Linked DNA regions of Homo sapiens: regions 2, 3, 4, 5 and 6 are each linked to region 1. Evidence: promoter capture Hi-C in human tissues and cell types (Jung and others, 2019). All regions are on one chromosome and are shown on one strand. Each heading gives the region's core, a stretch centred on a gene start or on the middle of the fragment in contact. The rest is flanking DNA. Distances are from core to core; before and after follow the strand shown.

Region 1 (3,551 bases), core at 267-2,766:
TTTCCAAAAGCTAAGGGATGAAAGAAAATCTACTGTTTATCGGCCATAAGGTTATATACTGTTTCTTAGCAACCAGGGTTTGTCTTTCAGAGACTAGAAGTCGATGAAAAAGGAGAGACTAAAAATAAAACCATCTGGACAGTTCCAATTCACAGAGGCAGCACTTCAAAGGCAGTGATGTTGTGATAAACCATACTGTTGAGTTAAAGTTCATTCCATTGGCTAGAAAGAGAGGCTCATGACACTTGCTTAATAAATGTTTCCCGGATACTCACTGCAGTCCCTGAACCAAAGACCAGGAATAAAAGCTACCTATCTGTTCCTGCATAGAGCACATATCAACATCAGGGATGAGAGGTACTATGGTCACTCACCTCCTCACTCTCTCAGCTCCACTCCTCTGGTTGTAAGAGGCTAGTTTATCTGCGAGTCTTGCTGGGACGTAGGCTTGCTCCTACCTAGAGGCAGAATTTGAACCTTCTACCCCATATCACATTTCTTGTTGACCCTTACCTGTTAGTGTCTGATACAGTAATTCCGTTTAGGACACCAAGTTTTGTTTTTCTGTTTTGTTTTGTTTTGAGACAGTCTCGCTCTGTTGCCCAGGCTGGAGTGCAATGGCGCAATTTCCGCTCACTGCAACCTCCGCCTCCCGGGTTCAAGCGATTCTCCTACCTCAGCCTCCCAGGTAGCTGGGACTACAGGCACGTGCCATCACACCCAGCTTATTTTTTATTTTTAGTAAAGACTGGGTTTCACCATGTTGGCCAGGCTGGTTTCGAACTCCTGACCTCAGGTGATCTGCCTGCCTTGGCCTCCCAAAGTGCTGGGATAACAGGCTTGAGCCAACGCGCCTGGCCCAGCACCAAATTTTTAAAAACAGTAAGGGAAAAGTTATTTCCATACTGGTTGGAGTATGAGTTCTGGAGATACCTGGAAAATGACATCTTACTGGATGCCTAGGCAGTTCCGACACACCCATATCTTTCAATCCTGTAGCCAGTCACAAAAATCAGGAAAGTAGTATTCCTGGAAGGAACCGGGCTGGTTATTTACCAAAGGACTGCAAACTAGCCGACTCAATTTATAAGGTGCGGCATGGATACTTTCATTTAAGCAAATGAGCTTTCATTCAGTCAAAATCCCTGTTGTTGGGCCCCTGTGGTTTTAAACTCCAAGGACCAAGGTGCTTGTGAGTGAGTATGTTTGGGGCCCGGGCTCCCGCCCCGAAGCCAGGTTGTTAAAATACTCACCGCCTCTGGCCCGCGTGCACGACGCTCTCCCGCGAAGGGCCCTTAGGGGCTGCCTCCAAACCCTCTCTCTGGTCTTCCACGGGGCTCAGCTCCCCTTGCCGCCCAGAAGGGTCCTGGGGATCCCGGGTCGGGCGGGAGGCAGGGGAGGCGCCGAGCCCGGAGTTCACCACTCTATTGCGGGTGTTCATGGTTCACAGCCCGCGGGTCCCGGGCCGCCGTCGCTGCGGGAGGGATGCGGCTGGGACGCTTAGCGAGTCTCAAGATGGGATTCCAAAGTGCAGAGGCAGCGGTTTTAACAGCTGAGTTTCGGTTTCTCAGAATCAGCAGCAGACTGCGCCCGCCCCAGAGAACTTCCCCACGTATTCTCCACTGAGGCCCCGTCCGACCTTATCGCGGGTTAACAGCCCAGGATGTTGACTTGAGCTGGCTTGGTCGGCTACAGGTGAGACGGTTTAAAGTCTCACAATCACCTTAGAGGTTAATCAGAATAACTGGGATCAGCCACGGACACCTGGTGAGCGATTAGCCCGCAGAGTGACTACAATCCTGAAAGATACTTGAGAAACTGTTTAACAGGCAACTCTAATTTGAGGTTACCGCTGGATATTTGAGACTGTAAAAAATATATTAACCTTAAAATACCAGAGATTAGGTCAATAACTAAAATCATCTCAACAAAATGTCGCCTTTTATCAGTAATGACTGCTGTGTGGCTGTTACCAATGCACATACTTTCAAGTTAGAGGAAATGGAAACTGAAATCAAAAGAAAACAAAAACCTACAAAGCCGGAGAAGTAAGCTAAGGTAGACATGATTCTCCAGGCAGCCTTGCTAAGTAATTGACTAGACATTCGAGAACTATTAAAAATACCTGCTCTGTGCAGAACAGTGTGCAACGGTGATGTGGGGACATTTTAAAATATGGATGTGTAAGGCTCAGTTCCTGTAGGTTCAGGGGTGAGCTCTGGCATTCATATTTTTGAAAAGCTCCCAGATGATTCTGATGTGTGCCAGGGTTGGTCACCAGGGTCACAATGCCGTCTACACAAAGATGAGTGAAGGCTCTTCCCTCATGCTACCTGCATTCTAGGAGTATCCTAGTAGACAGGTAAACAAATGGGAATGCCACTTTGGGATAAATGAAATGACAGGCAGCTGTGGAGGCACAGAGAAACTGGGGATTAGCCCTCTGAGTAATTCAGGAACAGGGACATTTGAGAATGAGCCACCAAAGACATAGGAATTCACCAAGAAGAAGGAGATGCTATGGCAGAGGCTTGTCACTTAAAATGACATGGTGTGTACTTAATTCCAGGGGTTGTCATGTGGCTGGAGCACCCCAGTCCTAGGTCAGCAAGACAGTTAGGAGCTGGACTGTCTTCCTTATATTATTGGTGCTTAGAACAAAAAGACACATACAGGTTTGATAGCTAATGAAAGAATGAAATTGAAGGGTGGGCCAGGGTGGGACAGGAGAGGAGAAAATAATGACAAGGAACATGGTAGGAAAGTCAGTCAGGATTTCTATGCCATCCTAAGACATTAGGGTTTTGTAGAGTAGGCCAGAGTTTCACAAATTTCAGTAAGCATCAGAACCACTTGGAGGAGGGTGCGTTAAAACAGATTTATGGCCAGGCACGGTGGCTCACTCCTGTAATTCCAGTACTTTTGGAGGCCGAGGCAGGAGGATTACCTGGAGATCAGGAGTTGAAGACCAGCCTAGCCAACGTGGCGAAACCCCACCTCCACCTGGGCGACAGAGAGAGACTCCATCTCAAAAATATATATATATAGTTTCTGATTCAGGTCTGGGATGGGGCCCAAGGATTTGCATTTCTAACAAATTTCCAGGTGATACCAATGATGCCAGTCTCAGGATCACCCTTTGGGAACCACTGTTGTAGGCAATGTGGAAGGCACAGGAAGTTTTTCAATAGGGCAGTTACTCAATAATATCTGTTTTACAAAGTTAGCTTCTAACAATGTGAAAACGGAGATTGAAAGATGAAGAGACTGAAATCGGGAAGATAAATTCAGAGCCTAGTTACGTCTAGGTAAGAAATACAGATCTGAGCTAAGGCAACCCAGAAAGTGGGGAGCAAAATCAAGACATTTCACATGGGCCAGGCTCAGTTGCTCATGCCTGTAATCCCAGCACTTTTGGAGGCTGAGGCAGGAGGATCACCTGAGGCCAGGAGTTTAAGGCCAGCCTGGGCAGCATGGTAAGACCTCATCTCTACAAAACAAATAAATAAAACATAAAAGACATTTCACATGAGAGATTAGCATAGATAAAA
Region 2 (3,551 bases), core at 267-2,766, 500 kb after region 1:
GCAGAGACCCTTCACTAGTGCAATGACTAGTGGAACTGTGGGGTCAGAGCCACTGCAGAGAGTCCCCAGTAGGGCAATCCTTAGTGCAGCCATGGGGGCAGGTTCACTCATAAAATCCCATTATTGTAGAGCCACAGCATGCAACTCCAGCCTGAGAGAGCTACAAGGGCTGAACTCCAGCCCGCGAGAGCTGCTTCATGGGCTATGCTCAACAATATTGTCATAGAAGGGTCTCCTGGAGGCTTGGAGACCCAACCCAGCTGAGTATGTCTTGAAGAAGATATGAAGTAAAAGATTACTTTCAAGTCTTAAGATTTAATGTTTGCCTTGTTGGGTTTTAGACTTACTTGGGACCTGTTACCCCTTTCTTCTTTGCTATTTCTCCCTTTTGGAATGGAAATGTCTATCCTATGTCTGTCCCATCATTGTATTTTACTTTATTTTTGAGACAGAATGTCGCTCTGTCACGCAGGCTGGAATGCAGTGGCATGACGTCGGCTCACCACAACCTCCACCTCCTGGGTTCAAGCGATTCTCCTGCCTCATCCTCCTGAGTAGCTGAGATTACAAGTGCCTGCCCCCACGCCCAGCCAGATTTTTTTCTATTTTTGGTAGAGACAGGGTTTTGTCATGTTGGCCAGGCTGGTCTCGAACTCCTGGCCTCAAGTGATACACCTGCCTCGGCCTCCCAAAGTGCTGGGATTGCAGGCATAAGCCATTGCGCCCAGTCCCATCATCGTATTAATATTTTAGAAGCGCATAACTTGTTTAACTTCACAGGTTCATAGCAGGAGAGCAATTTGCCTTGACATGAATTATGCCTTGAGTCTCACCCATAGAGGATTTAGATGAGACTCTGGATTTTAGACTTTGAGTTGATGCTAGAACAAGTTTAGACTGGGCTACTGGGATGGAATCAATGTATTTTGCATGTGAGAGGACATAAATTTGGGAGAGGGGCCAGGGTAGAATATTATGGTTAAAATGTGTCCCCTTCAAAATTCAGGTGTTGGCAATGTGATATTATTAAGAAATTGGGCTTTTAAGAGGTGATTAGGCCATAAGGACTCCTCCCAGGTAAATGAGATTAAGGACCTTATTAAAAAATGTTTCACACAGCATTTGGATAATTGCTCTTCTGCCTTCTGCCATGTGAGGGCAAAGGGTTCCTCCCCTCCGGAATAACCATCTTGGAAGAAAGCTTCCCTTTCCAGAAAACTGAACCTGCCAGTGCATTCATCTTGAACTTTTCAGCCTCCAGAACTGTAAGCAAACAAATTTTTATGCTTTATAAATTACCCCATCTATTGTATTTTGGTATAGCAGCACAAATAGACTAAGAGAGTGAGCCTGCAATAAATACAGTATCCTTCTTTATCCCTTTCACTGAAAACCTGTTAACACTATTTTCCATTCATTCCAACTCATAACATCACAATTTATGCACTACCATTGTGTCAATTCATTCTTAGATTGCTATAAAGAAACATCTGAGGCTGGGTAATTCATAAGCAAAAATTTATTTTGGCTTATGGTTCTTCAGCCTATACAGGAAGCATGGCGCTGGTGTCTGCTTCTGGCGCATCCTCAAGAAGCTTACTATCATGGTGGAAGGCAAATGGGAGCAGGTCCATCACATGATGACAGCAGGGGCAAGAGAGAAAAGGGAGAGGTCCCAGACTCTTTTAAACAACCAGATCTTGCATGGACTTAGTGAGAACTCACCTATCACAAAGGACATGGTGCCAAACCATTCATGAGGGATCCACCCGCATGATCCCATCACCTCCTACCAGGCCCCACCTTCAGCATTGGGAATCACATTTCAACATGAGATTTGGAGGGGACAAACATCCAAATCATATCAACCATAACTTCTAGCTAGTATTTATTCTTGTAGTTCATCCTGAAAAGAGCCCAAAATGGGTCATCCTCAGGCTATAGTGGTGATAAACATTTGAACTAAAGTAAATAAGGCAGGGCACTGTGGCTCATGCCTGTAATCCCAGCACTCTGGGAGGCTGAGGAGGCAGATCATTTGAGGTCAGGAGTTTGAGACCAGCCTGGCCAACATGGTGAAACCCTGTCTCTACTAAAAGTACAAAAATAGCCAGGTATGGTGATGTGTGCCTGTAGTCCCAGCTACTTGAGAGGCGGAGGCAGGAGAATGGCTTGAACCCAGGAGGTGGAGGTTGCAGTGAGCTAACACCACTGCACTGCAGCCCGGGCAACAGAGTGAGACTCCATCTCAAAAATAAATAAAATAAGTGAATAAATGCATAGATGAGATAATTCTTAAAATGTAACTCTAATTATGTACATCCACTACTAAAGAACTTACAAGGGCTCCCTATTTTCCAAAGATCAGACCTAAGTTATTCACCAGAAATATCTGTTCCCACCATCCTCTGTAATCTCAAAACAGACTATTTCTGACCAAAACCCTTGGATCCAGTAGAAATGGTCTGCTCACTATGTTATATAGTGAATCTCAACTAGAGGTGCATCACAGGTGCATGGGGTGTCGCCTATGACAAAAGTGATAAATGACATCTCTCTTGCCCTGTTTCTCTGATCAGCTACTACTTTGTGAACCACCCTATGGCGAGGCCCATTTGGAAAGAAACTGAAGGATCTTTCCAAGACAACAGCCAGTAAGAAACTTGGGCCCTTTATCTATTAGCCTATGAGAAACTAAATCCTACCAACAACCAATGAGCTTGGAAATATATTCTGCCCCAGTTGAGCAGAGATGCTGTAGATGTTGCTCTAGTTGAGATGACTACAGGCCTGGCCATTGCTTTGACTGAAGCCTTGTGAGAGACCCAGAGTTGGAGGACCCAGCTAAGGCATGCTCAGATTCCTGACTGTTGTTTAAGCAATTAAAATAGGGGGTCAGGCCTGAAAAATTCCTGAGCAAATACAACCAGAGGTCTTAAAAATAGCCTTAATCTTGCTTAAATTGCCAACATAAGCAAAACTTAACTCAGGTCACTTCTGATAAATGCTTACATTAGAACTAAAACTTAACCCCAGTGCATCGTAAGCAGCTAATGAACATAATTATGTGACTGGACTTTCCAAGAAAGTACCAAAGAAAAGGCCATTTTGTCATTGCAAACCGGTCAAATAATTTTATTTTACCTTAGCATTTTCCCAATAAATACTTGCCTCATTCTGTCATTGAGACACTAAACCTCTTGCAATCTGGTGTTCTCCATCCATAAATTGTTTCTTACTCAAACTCTTTAAAATTTTATGCCTTAAATTTTAATGCAGTGATAGTTAATTTTATGTTGTTAACTTGGCTAGGCCATGGTACCTAGATATTTGCAAACACAAGTCTAGATGTTACTGTGAAGATGTTAAAATTAACATTTAATTAGTAGACACTGAGTAAAGCAGATTACTTTCCATAATGTGGGTGGGCCTTATCTAATCAGTTGAAGCACATAAGGCAAAACAGACTGAGGTCCCCCAAGAAAGGGAATTCTGCCTCCAGACTGTCTTTGGATTTGAGCTTCTTCCCTAGATCTCCAGCCTGCTGGCCT
Region 3 (3,551 bases), core at 662-3,161, 470 kb after region 1:
CTTTCTGAAGTTACTATAGGTTTTTAAAGGCTTTCATTTGCTTCCTGAAATATCTATATCTTCTCTGAGCTCCTTTAGCCCCTTTCTCTGTTTTGATCTCTATATTTTATTCTATATTTTATGTCAGTGGATATCCTCAAATATCTGATGGCCCTTCATTACTCATTTATATTTAAGAAATATATATGTTTATTTCATATATATACATTATATATGAAACAAACGATTCATTTATATTTAAAAACAGTGGGTCTAGTTTCCAAGGGAAACCCTGAGTGTAGACAGGGTGTGCTTTTTCCTTGACTGGCATCCCTCCGAGGTAACAGAGTGGGGAATCTAACCATTTCAACAGGGACTCTGCCAATCAGTCATTTTTTGGACTGAGTTTCTGCAGATAAGAATCTCCAAACCCCTGCCTAAGGAGCCAGTCCCTAGCTGTAGGTTCCCTGGGAGCTATGTCAGGGAATAGTCCAGGAGGGTTTCACCTGTTCTCTCTGTGGAGTTTCATCCTCTCTCCTGGGCCCAATCCCTGAGTCTAGAGTATCTCTGATTCAATGTAGCCTAAGACTATCCCTGATACCTCACATAGGGTTGGGGAATTGGTAGAGTCAGTGTGAGCTAGGGAGGGCAGGGCCTAACTACTCCATATACTCTGTTGGTCTGAAGCTCCTGGCAATCAATTCTCCTTTTTCCAGTCTCATGACTCCTAAGCCTCCACAGCATCCCGTGCATGAATCTGAAGGCTTTGCTCAGTGCACCTCAGCTATTCCTCCTCCATCACTCTGCTGTCTTCCACAAATTGCCTGATATCTCACATTCAGTAGCCTCTCCTCTGTTCTCTCATTTGCTTTGTGTCCCTGCTTTGTGGTTTTTAAAATTCTTTACTAATTTCAGTGAGATTTATTTTTTGTTCTTTACTAATTTTAATGAGATTTATTTTTTATTCTTTACTAATTTTAGTGAGATTTCTGGAACAGGAAGATATGAAAGCATGTGTTCAATCTAATAAAACCAGAAGTTTCTAGTGTTATACATTTTACTTTGTAGTTATATGTACTTATGTATTTTGTTTTGGTCTAGTTTGTTTGTCCAGAGAACTTTATGAGTTACTTGGACAAACTAGTAACCACCTCACAACTACTGTTAAGGAGGGTATTGACAAAATCATTTTACTTCTTTGTTATTTTTTAGGGATTATCAGGCAAGGTCAAGTTGACTTTCCATAAATGTTATCTTTATCCAGATAACAGCATTTTGTTATCTTGGCTCCAGAAGTTTGGACAAATAATCAATTTGAGGTAGACGCATATCAATTTATCAATAAGAAGGAAGGAAGACTATAAGGAGGAGGGAAGAAAGAAAGCAGAAAGGGAGGGAGGGGGAAGGAGAAAAAGGAAACAGACATAAAAGATTTTAAAACAGAACAGCAGGAAGACTGGCCCAACTAAATAACTATACTAAGAAAAGCTATGTATGTTCACTAAATAAGAAGATAAATTTCGGAAAATCATCTGGCTTTAAGATAATTCCAAACAATGATCACTGACTTGGAAGGCAGTTAAGCAATTTATGTCACTGAATGTTAATGGTCAAACTACGTTTTATCAGTCAACAAAATGTACCCAAAATGCATATGAAAAGCAGTATAGCCTGCAACAGAACCTATCACATAATGATTTTTCACAATTACATGTCCAGACCAACTTCTAACTATATACTGACTCTTACCACTCTGAAATATATCTATTTTTTGGCTCAAGAATATATGTGTATATGTATGTACCAAGGTATATATGTGTGTATTCCTCCCCTCATCTCCCAAAGAAATTTATGTTAGCTTGCAGGTAATCCTTTTACTTGAATATATGTTTATTTTCCTGCTTATATTTCTTATAAATTTGTCTAGCTCAAATTATGTAGTCCTCTATCCTCTGTCATACTCAATTATGGACCAATAACTTTTTTAAAAAAGTTAACTATGTTGTCAACAACATCACTTCCAATGTAGCCATCATCATATCTTTGAGCTTAACAAAAAGCTTGACTTTACAGTCAGATTGACCTTATTTTAAATCCCCTGTCTTCCATTTACTAAATAAACTCCCCGATAGGAAAATGGACATATTCTCTATTTTGCAGGATTTTATGAGAATTAAATCATACAATGCATATAAAGCACCTGGCATACTGTAGGTACCCAATTAAAAAAAGCTATTCAAGTCAGAATATGAGATGATATTGAAACCTTAAGCTGTCTAAAAGTACATCTTTTCCAACTGACTAATTTTTCATTTCCATTTTTTAGGCATCGCATCACTGGTAAGCTGGTCACCTGGAAGCAACGCATCAGTTAGCCACTGAAAAGGGGTGTGCAGAGCTCTTACAGAAAATTGAGAAAATCATTATATTGATATATTGATTATATTAAGAAAATCATTATATTGCTATCTACTTTTATATAAGTAGGGGAAAGGGAGGACTGGACAAAAACAATAAAGGAAAATATTTGGCCCAGCATCAGTTTCTTGACCCCTTTAGAATTCTATTTAACTACAAAATTAGGAGGTTATATGAAGTCCCTCCAAGTGTTCAGGACAAAGAGTTCTGTGGTTAGATGATTTTGAAACACACCTCGATCGTCTCACACCTCCCCCTCCCCATTCTTGAAGCTTTGAAACACATATGAGTTTATTCAAGGTATCTGTCCCATTTTGTTTTACCTTCCGTTATACAAACTTACTTGACTACAGACTCTCCCCCTTTTTTCTTTTCTTTCAGGTAATATTTATTGACATACTTTGGAAAAGACTGGATGAGTTGCTCTGCGACTTCCCACTCTAACATATGTTTCTCTGAGTTTCTACAACTTCAGCTAAATGTTTTAAGGAAGAAAAGAACAACAGAATATGTGCTAATTTTGATTGATTGATGCTCCCTCCTATAGCAGCATACAAATTTTAGAGTGGGAGAAAAATCTATTACGATTTCAATGAAATGAGCTATTTTATCTTGTCCCTATGTGGTACCATCAACATTTTAGACAGATGAACACCAAACCATTGACTGAATTGCTGCATAGTGGATTTGCCTTGATTATAAAGACAGTTGAATGACCAGGGTACCTCTGGCAATTTTGGCAATCAATAAGTAACATGAATCAACTATGTAGTGGTCAGACTGGCTACCCAGTGCTCAATCAAAACAGAAAATAACAGAGATAAGTTAATCCTTAGGTTGCAGGACTATACCATGATACCAGCATAAAACTCAAATGGACATTCATGATGAAAAAATGTTAATGCTATCATTATACAATAAACTGCTAAAAGTATTTTTATTAGTAAAATACTTTCATTTTTCTATCAATCTAACAACACTTATTTTTATCTGAAAGGAGGGTACTATGCTAAACGTCACTGGGACTAAAAGGATGTAGAGTAGGAAAAGGGCCAAAGATCCTACCAGAAAATGATCTAGGAGCCATATGTTAGTTCTGTCAGTAATTTTCTATGTAGCTGTCAATAATCCTTTGTTTTCTCTTTGTAAAAATA
Region 4 (3,551 bases), core at 309-2,808, 410 kb after region 1:
CTGAGGTGGAGAATCACCTGAGCCCGGGAAGTTGAAGCTGTAGTGAGCTGTGATCAGGCCATTGCACTCTGGCCTGGATGACAGAGTAAAATCTTGTCTCAAAAAAAAAAATAAATAAATAAAAAGAAAGAAAAAGAAACAAAAGAAATATTGTAGACACACACACATCAGCTTAGCACTAGGATGCAAGTTGCAGGACAGCATGTGTAGCGTCTATGGCAGTGCCTGCACATGGCAGGTGCTCCATATTCCAGTCCCATTGGATGTATCTAGGCCATCTACCTCTGCCCCATCTACCTCTGCCATCCCTTTTTGGACAGCAGCCTTCTAGATACAAACCCAGCCTCCCTCCCCTCTTGCCATTCTTCAATGCAGTCTCTATAAAACAAGTCAGATGCTTTTTTGTTAGCAGAAATAAAGAAACAAAACACACGAGTCACAGGTCACTTATCTCCTTAAAACTTCAGTAGTTTGCACTTCAAATAAAGTCTGTACTCCAAGCTTTGGAAGGCATGGTCTGGCCCCAGCCTATCCTACCAGACTTGAGTTAAGCACCAACCTGCCAATCCCACTCCATCCCAACCACCACCTCTGGCCCACATACACCCACTTTTCTCTTCTTTGAAGAGGATAAGCTCCTTTCATCTCAGGTCTTTGAACAGGACATTTTCTGCTTTTAGAACTTTCTCATCTTTTCAAATTCTCCATTTCTTTCTGCTCTTCCTTCCTGCTAACTAGATAAGTCTAATTTATCCTTTAGGTCTTAGTTTGAATATTACTACTTTAGGGGAACCTTTTCTGAAGCTTCTCCAATACCTCCAAACAAAGTTAGCCTCCCAATTCCTCTTTGTAACATCCCACAATTATAATTAGTCATTTGTATAATTATTTGATAACATCTTCTTTAGAGATACGTGTTCTCCATAAGAGCATCACTGGTCGGTCAGGCCAATTGCTGTTCCTCTAGTGCCTTGTAAAAAATGCTGTAATACTGTGGTGAGTAAATAAATATACCAATGTAATGTCCTAATGTCCTGGGGAAGAAAGGGTAAGTAAATGCATAGAGTGTAACAGAACTGTCACAAGTACATGAAATCAGGTACATAAATTGTGAAACATAAGTCAAGGGCCTATTTGTTTTCTGACACTTGATAGTGAGAAATCTTTCAACAAGATGGAAAATAAAAACAAAAGAGAACTCTGAGCATCATCCTTTAGAGACCCCCACTGGTACCCGCCAGGCTGTCTGTATCCCCTTCATCATGGCTGTGTCAGAGAATGCCACCATTAATATCTGAAGGGACTAAAGAAAGAAACTTTGCTGGTATAAGTATGATTTTCATTTTAAAAACAAGCATGTGGGGTGGTTTATCAACAGACAGTCCTGAGTGTATTTGTAAGCTGAAGAGACAGTTTCAGGCAGGATTTCCAGATTCTATTTTTTTATCTCTGACCACTTCTCTCATTTCAAATCTTGGAGCCCTGAAATAGTAGGAATGTAGTGGGACACAAGAGAGGGATCTGGAGACCTGGCTGCAGGGTAGGCTGAAACTTGAAGGAGCATCTGAGAGCTTCTTCCTAATTTCACAGCAGAGGTGCGTCTGGGCGTTACGGTCCCCAGGGCGTCAACAACCATCCCTATGTTGTGGCCACCAAAGCCATACCTCCATCAGGCCTTCCTTCCTGCTTGCCAGGCCCATAAATCTCCCTGCTCAACACAGGTTTTCTTTCAACAGGTTCCTCAAACTCAACATATCCAAAAGGAAATGAGCCATCTTACCCATCCTTCTCTTTCAGCCTTCCCCACCTTCTAAGCAAATGGCTCTATGGTTAACCCCACTTGCAAGTCTAGAAGCCTAGGAGTCACTGTTGATTCTTCACTCTCCTTATGTTCCATGTGGTCTTAGTCATCCATTCCTGTGGTTTCTACAATGAAATGTCTCATGAATCCCTTCAGGTTACTCCATCTGTACTGCTCAGGATAATCGCTGGCATTACTGCCATCACTGTCTCTTATCTGGGTAACTCCTGTCTGGTTGCCAACCTTTCCACACCCCCATCAGTCCTCTATAGGGGTTACAAACATGCTCTGTAAAAATATAATTCTGATCCTGCTACTCCCCTGCTTAACTTTCTTCAGTGACATCCTATAGCACCCTTTATCTATTAGTAGCATAACCACTTATCATGTTAATTTGTTTTTGTGTATTTACTCTTTTCTGTTTCTCCCGCCACTCTAAAGCATGACAGTAAGGTCTATGTCCTGTATTCCCAGTATTTAGCATAACATCTGGCTCAATAAATCTCAGTTAAAAGAGTGATGCTTGAGGAGATGAAAGGATTTAACAAATCCCTCTTCATATCTGGGCATATTAAAGAGGATAAAGGTGTTCCTGTGAGGATTAAACAACCCAAGAAGGAAATTAGAAAAAAGTACTCTGAGGAAGCAGAGAAGAATGAAAATAAGTGGAAACACCAGTGAATGGGAGAGGGTAGTGAAGGGGACGGAGAAGGACTTGCAACCTATCTTGGCGTTCCATGAGATAGAAAGCTAAGTTCTTCTCAGAATGGCAGGAAACAGAAGCAGTGACAGTGAACCCAGAGCTTCTGAAAAAGAAACAGCAAGGTATGAGCCAAGGAACACTTAAGGGTGCTGATAGACCCTTACAAGTGTGAAGAAGTCTTTTGTTGGCTCCAAATTAGTCACTGATAAAGGATGTGGCTCTATGTAGTTAATTGGGAAGTATGTTGTCTTTTTTTTTTTTTTTTTTGAGACAGAGTCTCACTCTGTCACCCAGGCTGGAGTGCAGTGGCGCCATCTCGGCTCACTGCAAGCTCCGCCTCCCGGGTTCACGCCATTCTCCTGCCTCAGCCTCCCGAGTAGCTGGGACTACAGGTGCCCGCCACCATGCCCTGCTAATTTTTTTGTATTTTTAGTAGAGATGGGGTTTCACCGTGTTAGCCAGGATAGTCTCAATCTCCTGACCTCTTGATCCGCCTGCCTCAGCCTCCCAAAGTGCTGGGATTACAGGAGTGAGCCACCGCGCCCGGCCAAGTATGATGTCTTTTTGGAACATGTGTTTAAAATAGCACAAATGGCATGCTAAGAAGCTTGGAGTAAAAGATGTGCATCACCCCAGAGTCAATAATGGCTAAAGAAATATTGTTGACAATAGGAAAGGAGATTTCAAAAAGTTTATAGAAAAGCAAGGTATTATCTCACGGCCAGAGAATATCCAGAAAGCACTATTAGTTCCCATGCAGGCCTGGGCAAGAAACTTAAAACCTGGGTACTCAGCTCCTGCTTTTCAGCTCTCCTTCCAGTTGATGATTATAACTTTGGAAAAGAAATTAAGTTATACAGGAAGAGAGCAGCTGGTCACACAAGAGGTGCCAAAGCTTGGGATTTGATATTCTAGATTTCAACTTGTGACACCAGAGGTGGGGCCTTCTGAAAAGGGACAACGTGTGCCACAGAAAACTGAGAAGAAGGTTTCAGGCAACACCTGACCCAAATTTTGAAATTTGAGATTAGGGAGTGACACTGTTCA
Region 5 (3,551 bases), core at 636-3,135, 330 kb before region 1:
AGATGCTCAGCCATCTCGAGGGGTACAGAAAAAGTCACCAAATAAATGTGAATAATGATGATTACAGAGATTCGAACTGAGGACACAATCTCCTTATTCTACATTCGATTTAAATAATCTTCACAGGAGTAGTAAAGTGTAACTCCTTCCCGCAGAGGGCTGCAGTGACATAAACTGATGTGACAGATGGACACACCATAGCCCACCCTAATTAGCATTCATTAGCATACTAAGTTGTATCTTGATCAGGCAGCGAACACAAGGTGTGCACAGAAACAGCATTTTCATGAACCCCATCCAGCTAAGATGCCTCTCTTCACCTTGGTGGGGGAAATTCATAGGATAATCATGCCATGATGCTTGGTGCTAAGTACTGTGCCACAAACAGAAAAGGTTTCAGGCTTAGGTGGAGGCAACCTAGAAAGGAGTGACTATTTCAAAACAGAAACTTAGGTTAAGCAGGACACAGAGAAATGTGAGACTTAAAAGACATGAAGGTCCCCAGAGATGGGAGAGGATTTGGAAGGGTAGTGGGAGAAAGGAGATCGTTTTTTACCTTTGTTTTTAAAGAAAAGCCATTCCCTGAAATTGAGGAAAGAGATCTTCTTTGTGTATCATTTCAGTGTGTCTATGTTGTCTTTGCTATTAGTGTGAAAAGCCTTTTATTTGAGCAGAAAAGGAATCAATAGAGAGAGGAAGAAAAGAAGGAAAACGAGTGCACACCACCACCTGCTTTTCTGGGAAGACAGAAAGCATAAAAAGAAGATACATGTAAGGTGTTTTGAGCACAATAAATATGTGGGGGTTTTTTTTTTTTTTTTTTTGGCACTGCCCTTCAGGATGATATTGGAAAAAAAACAACCACTTTCTTCTCCTAGGGCTGTGGGGTCATCAATTGAAGGGAAATTGCTTCCACCAGCTGATGACGCCCAAATCCATACCTCTAATTTCAGATCCTTCTTTTGAGCTTGGTGTCCATATATCTAGGGATTTACAGGACACTCATTCATATAGACGTCCAAGTATTTCTGGAGGATGTACCATGAGGCAGGAAGTGTGTAGTGGAGAATCTGGGCTGAGTTTATTATTTAGTTTTGGACAGAGACAAGTGAGAAGAAACTGTTACTGCCGAGAGGGAGAATCACTGCGAGGGGAGCACACGCAGGAGCTCCACCCTGCCTGGGGCCGTGGAGGCGAGGAAGTAAGTGACACTGGAGTCTAGACCTGAGTTATGAGGAGGGATTGCCCAGAGACAAGCTCAGGGAGAGGCCACAGAAGATGCGGGAAAACAGGTAAGGGCCACAGCCTTTTCAAACACCCGGAGAAGACAGAGATGATGGCATGCGTGATGGAGAAACAGTGATGTTTGGAATGGCGGGAATGTCTAGTAAGCTTCAAGCACTCCAACATCTAACTCTGCCCCTCCTTTTGTATTCTCTCTTCTTGTGAATGACACTACGGCCTTCCCAGTCCCCCACACCAGCCACCTGCACATCTTCCTGTTTCCCTTTACTTTCCATTCCTCCCCCAAATCCAATAAACCACCACCTTTCTTCTAAGAGTCTTGCAGACGGGGATCCTCTTTTCCAAGCCCCTCTTCTCTCCCCTGGACTGCTGTGACGGTCTCCGTGCTTATCCTCCTGTCTTTACCTTGTCCCCTCCAGCCCATGAGACACATCGTTGTTGGAGTGCTCTCTGCAGAAAACAGAATCTGTCTCATCTTTTCCCATCACCACCCCTCAGTGTCTACTCACGGCCCTCAGAATTAGTTAGCATCTACTTCATCTCAGGGCATGCGAGGCTTCGTATGATTTGACCTCTGCTCAAACTTGCAGACCCCCCTATTTTCAGCCACTCTCCTGCATCTAACCTAAGATCCCATTACATGGAGCTTCCTTCAGTTACCAGAGCTTGCCCAACTCTCAAATTGAGTATTTTGTGTTTATTCTTTCCTTAAATGTCCCCACACTTCCTGTCTAGTTAATTCTATTATTTTATAATTCTCAGTGGAGACATCACCAACTGTGAGAAGCCTCCTTTGAAAGCCTCGTTGCCAGTCTAGATGGGGAAGCCTACATGCTTCCAAGCAGCCTGTGCTCTCCTCTCCCATAGCACAAGTCACTGAGTCTGTCTGTTCCTCATCAGGCTCAAAGTGCTTTGAGGGGCAGGTACCAATTATTTCATCTTGTATTCATTTGAGCCTAGCACAGTGTCCCCAAGCATTCATTCACTCTATTCTGCTTTTTTAACCACCTCAAGATGTTATAGTATGTTTCTGTGTAGTATCTGCCCCACTCTAAGGCAAGCTGTACAATGCCAGGGAGTTTGTTTTGTTCAATCCGTTGCCATGACAATGATACCTGGCAGAGGATAGGTGTTGAAGTAATTGTGTATTTGTTGAATGAATGAGTGAATGAATCTGATGTTCATGCCCTGATCCTAGCTTTGGTCCATTACGACTTCATCATGGCAAATCCCTATTTTTTCAGTTTTCTTTGACCTGAGATTCTTTAGTAAGTGGTTGCTGACTAACTATTTGACATGGGACAAGTTGCTAATCCCCTCTCTGTCTCAGTTTCTCCTTTGGTGAGGAGAAATCTAGCTTCATTAAATTGACATGCAGTTAAATCTACTTCATTAAATTGACATGAGAGTTAAATTAGTTTATTCATGTACAATATTTAAACAGTACCTAGCACATGGTAAATGTCCAGTAAATGTTAGCTATCATCATCATCAAAATTACCTCCATCTTGTTTTTATATCCCACACTCCTTTAAAATCATTCTTTGAAACATTTTTCCTCCTACAAAGTCTTCAAGCTATAACTGTCCCAATCATTTTAGGGGCCACAGGACAGCTTCATGCAGAGTCTCTAGCATAATGCTAGATAGTTATTAAATGCTTGACTAGAATGACAATTTGGAATTCCTCTTTTAAAATACTGGCATCTTGATGTGTAGGTCATCTTTTCAGATTGCCCCATACTGAACTGATCTGCACTATTCAATAGAAAATGAGTTTTTGGGAAACAGCGTTTTCTTGTCTATTCTCTCACTTCAGTTAGGAATAACAGTTATAAGCAGAATAACAATAGCATTTCTATTTTTATACATGACATCCATCCACCTGTTTTTCAAAACCTGACACCTGAGCCAGATGGATTTCATCCTAGTTTTATTTTCTTTCTTTTTCTTTTTTATTTTTGGAGAGGCTGGGATAATACCTGCACAGTGAGAGCAAAGCCATGGCCCCAGAAGCAAGGAGAGCTCATCCTAGGTTTAGATAGGAACTTAAATAAGGAAAAAACCTTCCTCAGGTGCTCCAAGAATCAAATAAACACATGTTCACAGTGGCATTTCCATGGAGATGTTAGAAAGCCAATCTGAGCGTGCTATTCCATGTAATTTGAACAGGTGCAAGTTAAGCATGGTGGCTTGCATTCCTATAATGCCAATAAAAGCTTTAATACTCTGGAGATTAATTAATGATAAAAACAAGATCTTGCTGGCATCTGTGATGAATGCTTGTGGGTATTGAATACATAGCCT
Region 6 (3,551 bases), core at 277-2,776, 310 kb after region 1:
CTCTAATCACTAAGATACTTCTGTAGGCAATCCATGCTCTGGATGTTACAGAGCAGTCAATATGGATGGGGGAATTAAAAAAAATTGACTCTATATATTTTAACTTTCCATCATTCTACTTATATTTCCCTTGTTTAAATAAAAACAATCTTTTTTTTTTCAGAAAATATTGATTGGATTTGTATATTCAGAGGGATAATTTAAAAATACCCATGATGATAATATATGCTCTGTTATTCTAAGGTAACTCAAAGGCCCAAACACCTTAAGAATATCAGGTACCAATTGACGTTTTCAGATACAAATCTGACTGTGAATCTTTGACTCTATTCCCTCACTGCCAACAGTCAGATTTTCCCCTCCTGTCGACATTTTATATCCCACAGTACCTGTTCCTTTTCCCTACTCCAAAGCCCTCAACTTTCATTTCCTTTTTAACAATTGCCATAAATATACATCTTTAAATTCAGTATGCCAGGATGAGGTCTGGCACTCTTCAACAAAAACACAGCTATTGCCCTGTTTCTAAAGTTATTTATCCCCCAAAACTCTGATGCTTCATGTATTCCATCAACAAACACTTCTTAAACACGTAATGTGCTCAAAGAACCTGACTAGATCCTAAGTGTAATACAGAAAAAGTGGAAACAATATAATTTACATTTACACTAACCTTGAAGACAGACAAACAAACTGCTTTTGTAAAATCAGTTGTCGTGCTTTGAAGTTAAAAGTTCTAAGATTACAAAATGCTTGTATCATGCAGGGATCTGCTAGGTATTTGCCATGGGGCTATATTTCACATGCAGCCTTTCAATCTCCTAAATCCAAATCATTTTCCTTTATTTCCTACCTCCAGGGTGATTTCTTCAACATATTTTATTGGCTTGGCTTTTCTCCAGATTCTACCCTTCCACAAACAGTCATTAGCACTTTTCTGTCCTAGTAACATAGCTTTTTGGTTGTCATTTCTTCTCCTTCACCCTTTCCAGCACACGGCTGCCTTTCCATTTTCATTTAATACACATATCTCTTTCTCTCAAAAAAAAAAAAAAAATCTGGGCCAGGTACCTGCTGCATGCCTTGCATGGTTTGCTGCAGAAACTGCAGTTGCTGGTCCTTGGTGAGGTTTTCTTCTGTTCGGAAAAGCTGTTCTTTTTCTTGTTTCAGCAGCTCCACCTCATTCCTGTAGGCATCCAGCTGCCAGCGGAGACTGTCATTCTCCTCTTTCAGAGCGTAGGCCTGGGCAGCCAGGGCTGAGGGACAAACAGAACGAGTTCAGGTGAGCTACCTTCTTGCTTAGCTTGAGGAGGCCTTCTGTGGGAAAGGGAGTCTGTCACCCAAGTTCTTAATGTTTGTACCAGCTCAGAAATAAAAGCAAAATGCCACTCCCTGGGCCTCTCTTTTGTAGTCGGTATGCATCACTTCTCTCGGAACTTTTATCTATTCTGTTTGTCCTGTCTTACATGTGAATGTTTCTTATGGGCACAGGATTAATTCCTCCCAAATTCTCATCCCTTGACCTCTCCCTCAATGCTAGACACCCTCACAGACATTGGTATGTGGTGCTAGGTGGTGACAACATTTAGAATTCCAGGCAACAATCATATCTACTAAATATTGTCTTCCCCCTTTCTACGGGATTGCTTAGCTACTTGGAGGGCTGCTTGCTTTCAAATAATCAGCAGTTCCACAGGTTGAGACATGCGGCAGCATCCCAGGGGAGAGAGGAAATTATATGCACACCACTCCTTCCTGCTCTACTGCTGGGACAAATTGCACAGATTGTTTTCCTCCAACTCCTATCAGAATGGGAAGCTAGTTCCATCTGTTTCACCAACAGATTAAAACTCTTTTCCTCTACAAGGCTGAGTGGTTACTCTAATACCTCTCCCTGAAACCCCAAATTCTCCACATTTAGATTCAGACTTCATTCATATGTCTATCTTATTAAGAAACCAAGACAGTTAACTCAGGGTCTCACACATCTCAAGGCTTCAGAAATAGCCGAAACTGAAAAAGAAACAAATGGTACCAAACAAAGATTGAGGGTAGGGAAATCCCTTTCCCTAGTTTCTACCTTATTGCTTAGGGGTCTCTCCGAAAATCAACATAGCCTGCTGAGCACTCATAAAGCACTGGATCAAGAGCTTTGTATGAACTCACTCACTTCATACCCCCACCAAGCCTGTGATGCCGGTGCTGGTCTTATGCTCATCTTTACAGATGAGAAAAATGTGGCACAGAGAAGTTATGTAACTCATCCAATCCCACAAAGTAAGTAGCAGAAAGCCTTCACACCCAGGCTGCAGGCTCCAGAGTCTCTGCTCTCGATTACCATCGGTCCATGTGTTTAGTTCTTACCAGGCTGTTCAAAACCAGTCTCACATTCCCCCACCAACTCTCCCACCACTCTCCCTTTAATCTTCCCCCTCACAGAAAAGCCATTCCCCACTTGTGTAAGCAAGAGAAAAGTGAAAGAAAATTTGAAACGCTTGTTACCAGAAACTTCAAACATGTAACTTCCAGTAGATAAGGGCACGGTGTGGAGCCCACTGCACACCAGGTCGTCAGTGCATGCGCGTTTCCAGCCCCCGCTCCCCGTGTCAGAGGACCAAATCAAGGTCGCCTCCTGAGTGTTCTACCTGCACATTACAGTTCCATGGTGATAAAGCTTTACTGAGGTTCTCTGAGACCACAGTGAATTCTCTCCTCAAATATCAAATGTCAAATTATGTTAATAATAGTTTTATAGTTGAGTGTTTTACAGTACTCCATCTTGCAAAATGATAATCTCTGTGTAGTACACACTGAACTACTAATCAGACAGAACATGCAATTACCCAGAAATTTCCCTACCTCAAGCCAGTAGGGATCAATTACTTAACACGCATTTACTTCATATTTACTGTGCTCAGGTCCGTGAGGGCATCTCAGACCACAAAAAGAGGAGACAGAATACATCTCTTCTCTCAAAGAGCTTAATCTAGTAGAAACTGACACATTTAAAAAGAAACTATTGCTTTCAAAGGAAGAAAGGATAGTGTGATGTCTGGAATACAGCAGACACTCAATAAATGTTGGTTGAATGAATAAATGAATAAATAAATGAGTCGAGATGCATGACAAAAAAATGCATCCTATAGGAGTTCAGAGAAGAGAAATAAAAATTCAGACTGAAGGAATAAAAGAGGGCTTTGGAAGATGAAAACCCCAAGAACTTGGAAAGGATGTCTCTCAGTCAGAAGCCAGAGCATAAGCAAAAGCCCAGATATGAAAATCAAAGGTAGAACACTTGGGGCAAGAAGGAGAGAAACTCGACCAAAAGCCAAGTGTTTGCCTGGAAGCAGTGAGAGAAAGGGAATCCACGTCAGGTGATGGGAGAAGATGGGGAAGGTTAGGTTCAATGGAGTGGCCAATTGAGAACCACTGACAGCGCTTGGAGTAGTGGAAGGACATGATGAAATTGGGATTTAGGAACATTAGTTTGGCAATGGTGCATGGAATGAACTGGAGGCTGAAGAGAATGAATAAAGGAGATTTCATTTGGT

Evidence for each region. The method cuts DNA at HindIII sites, captures the fragments that hold promoters and counts their contacts. A contact is called where the count stands out against the background at its distance.
Region 2: a contact is called between a fragment that was not itself captured here and the fragment with the promoter of EPSTI1 in region 1, in 1 of the 25 tissues and cell types used here (lymphoblastoid cells).
Region 3: a fragment that was not itself captured here is called in contact with the fragment with the promoter of EPSTI1 in region 1 in 1 of the 25 tissues and cell types used here (dorsolateral prefrontal cortex).
Region 4: a fragment that was not itself captured here is called in contact with the fragment with the promoter of EPSTI1 in region 1 in 1 of the 25 tissues and cell types used here (dorsolateral prefrontal cortex).
Region 5: a contact is called between a fragment that was not itself captured here and the fragment with the promoter of EPSTI1 in region 1, in 2 of the 25 tissues and cell types used here (IMR-90 fibroblasts and dorsolateral prefrontal cortex).
Region 6: a fragment that was not itself captured here is called in contact with the fragment with the promoter of EPSTI1 in region 1 in 1 of the 25 tissues and cell types used here (H1 embryonic stem cells).

Annotation. Positions count from the first base shown.
Region 1 is chr13:42,990,725-42,994,275 of GRCh38, forward strand. It overlaps EPSTI1 (epithelial stromal interaction 1), which reads right to left and starts at 1,517. Exons shown (of 11, transcript NM_033255.5): 1 at 1,254-1,517. The coding sequence starts at 1,441. RefSeq lists enhancers at 1,531-1,650, 1,911-2,150. The HindIII fragment of the contact is 8,524 bases long and covers 1-3,551 here.
Region 2 is chr13:43,489,512-43,493,062 of GRCh38, forward strand. The region is part of intron 2 of ENOX1 (ecto-NOX disulfide-thiol exchanger 1); the gene reads right to left. Among named protein-coding and RNA genes, the nearest start is that of ENOX1-AS2, 42 kb to the left of the region's middle. The HindIII fragment of the contact is 3,392 bases long and covers 1-3,212 here.
Region 3 is chr13:43,456,152-43,459,702 of GRCh38, forward strand. The region is part of intron 3 of ENOX1 (ecto-NOX disulfide-thiol exchanger 1); the gene reads right to left. ENOX1-AS2 (ENOX1 antisense RNA 2) reads left to right here. Exons shown (of 4, transcript NR_120399.1): 3 at 2,306-2,319; 4 at 2,779-3,337. Among named protein-coding and RNA genes, the nearest start is that of ENOX1-AS2, 9.1 kb to the left of the region's middle. The HindIII fragment of the contact is 4,663 bases long and covers 1-3,551 here.
Region 4 is chr13:43,403,740-43,407,290 of GRCh38, forward strand. All of the region lies in intron 5 of ENOX1 (ecto-NOX disulfide-thiol exchanger 1), which reads right to left. Among named protein-coding and RNA genes, the nearest start is that of ENOX1-AS2, 43 kb to the right of the region's middle. The HindIII fragment of the contact is 3,394 bases long and covers 1-3,255 here.
Region 5 is chr13:42,656,964-42,660,514 of GRCh38, forward strand. No RefSeq gene overlaps it. Among named protein-coding and RNA genes, the nearest start is that of TNFSF11, 85 kb to the left of the region's middle. The HindIII fragment of the contact is 4,217 bases long and covers 1-3,551 here.
Region 6 is chr13:43,297,275-43,300,825 of GRCh38, forward strand. ENOX1 (ecto-NOX disulfide-thiol exchanger 1) reads right to left here. Exons shown (of 17, transcript NM_001347969.2): 12 at 1,072-1,256. Among named protein-coding and RNA genes, the nearest start is that of ENOX1-AS2, 150 kb to the right of the region's middle. The HindIII fragment of the contact is 4,025 bases long and covers 1-3,539 here.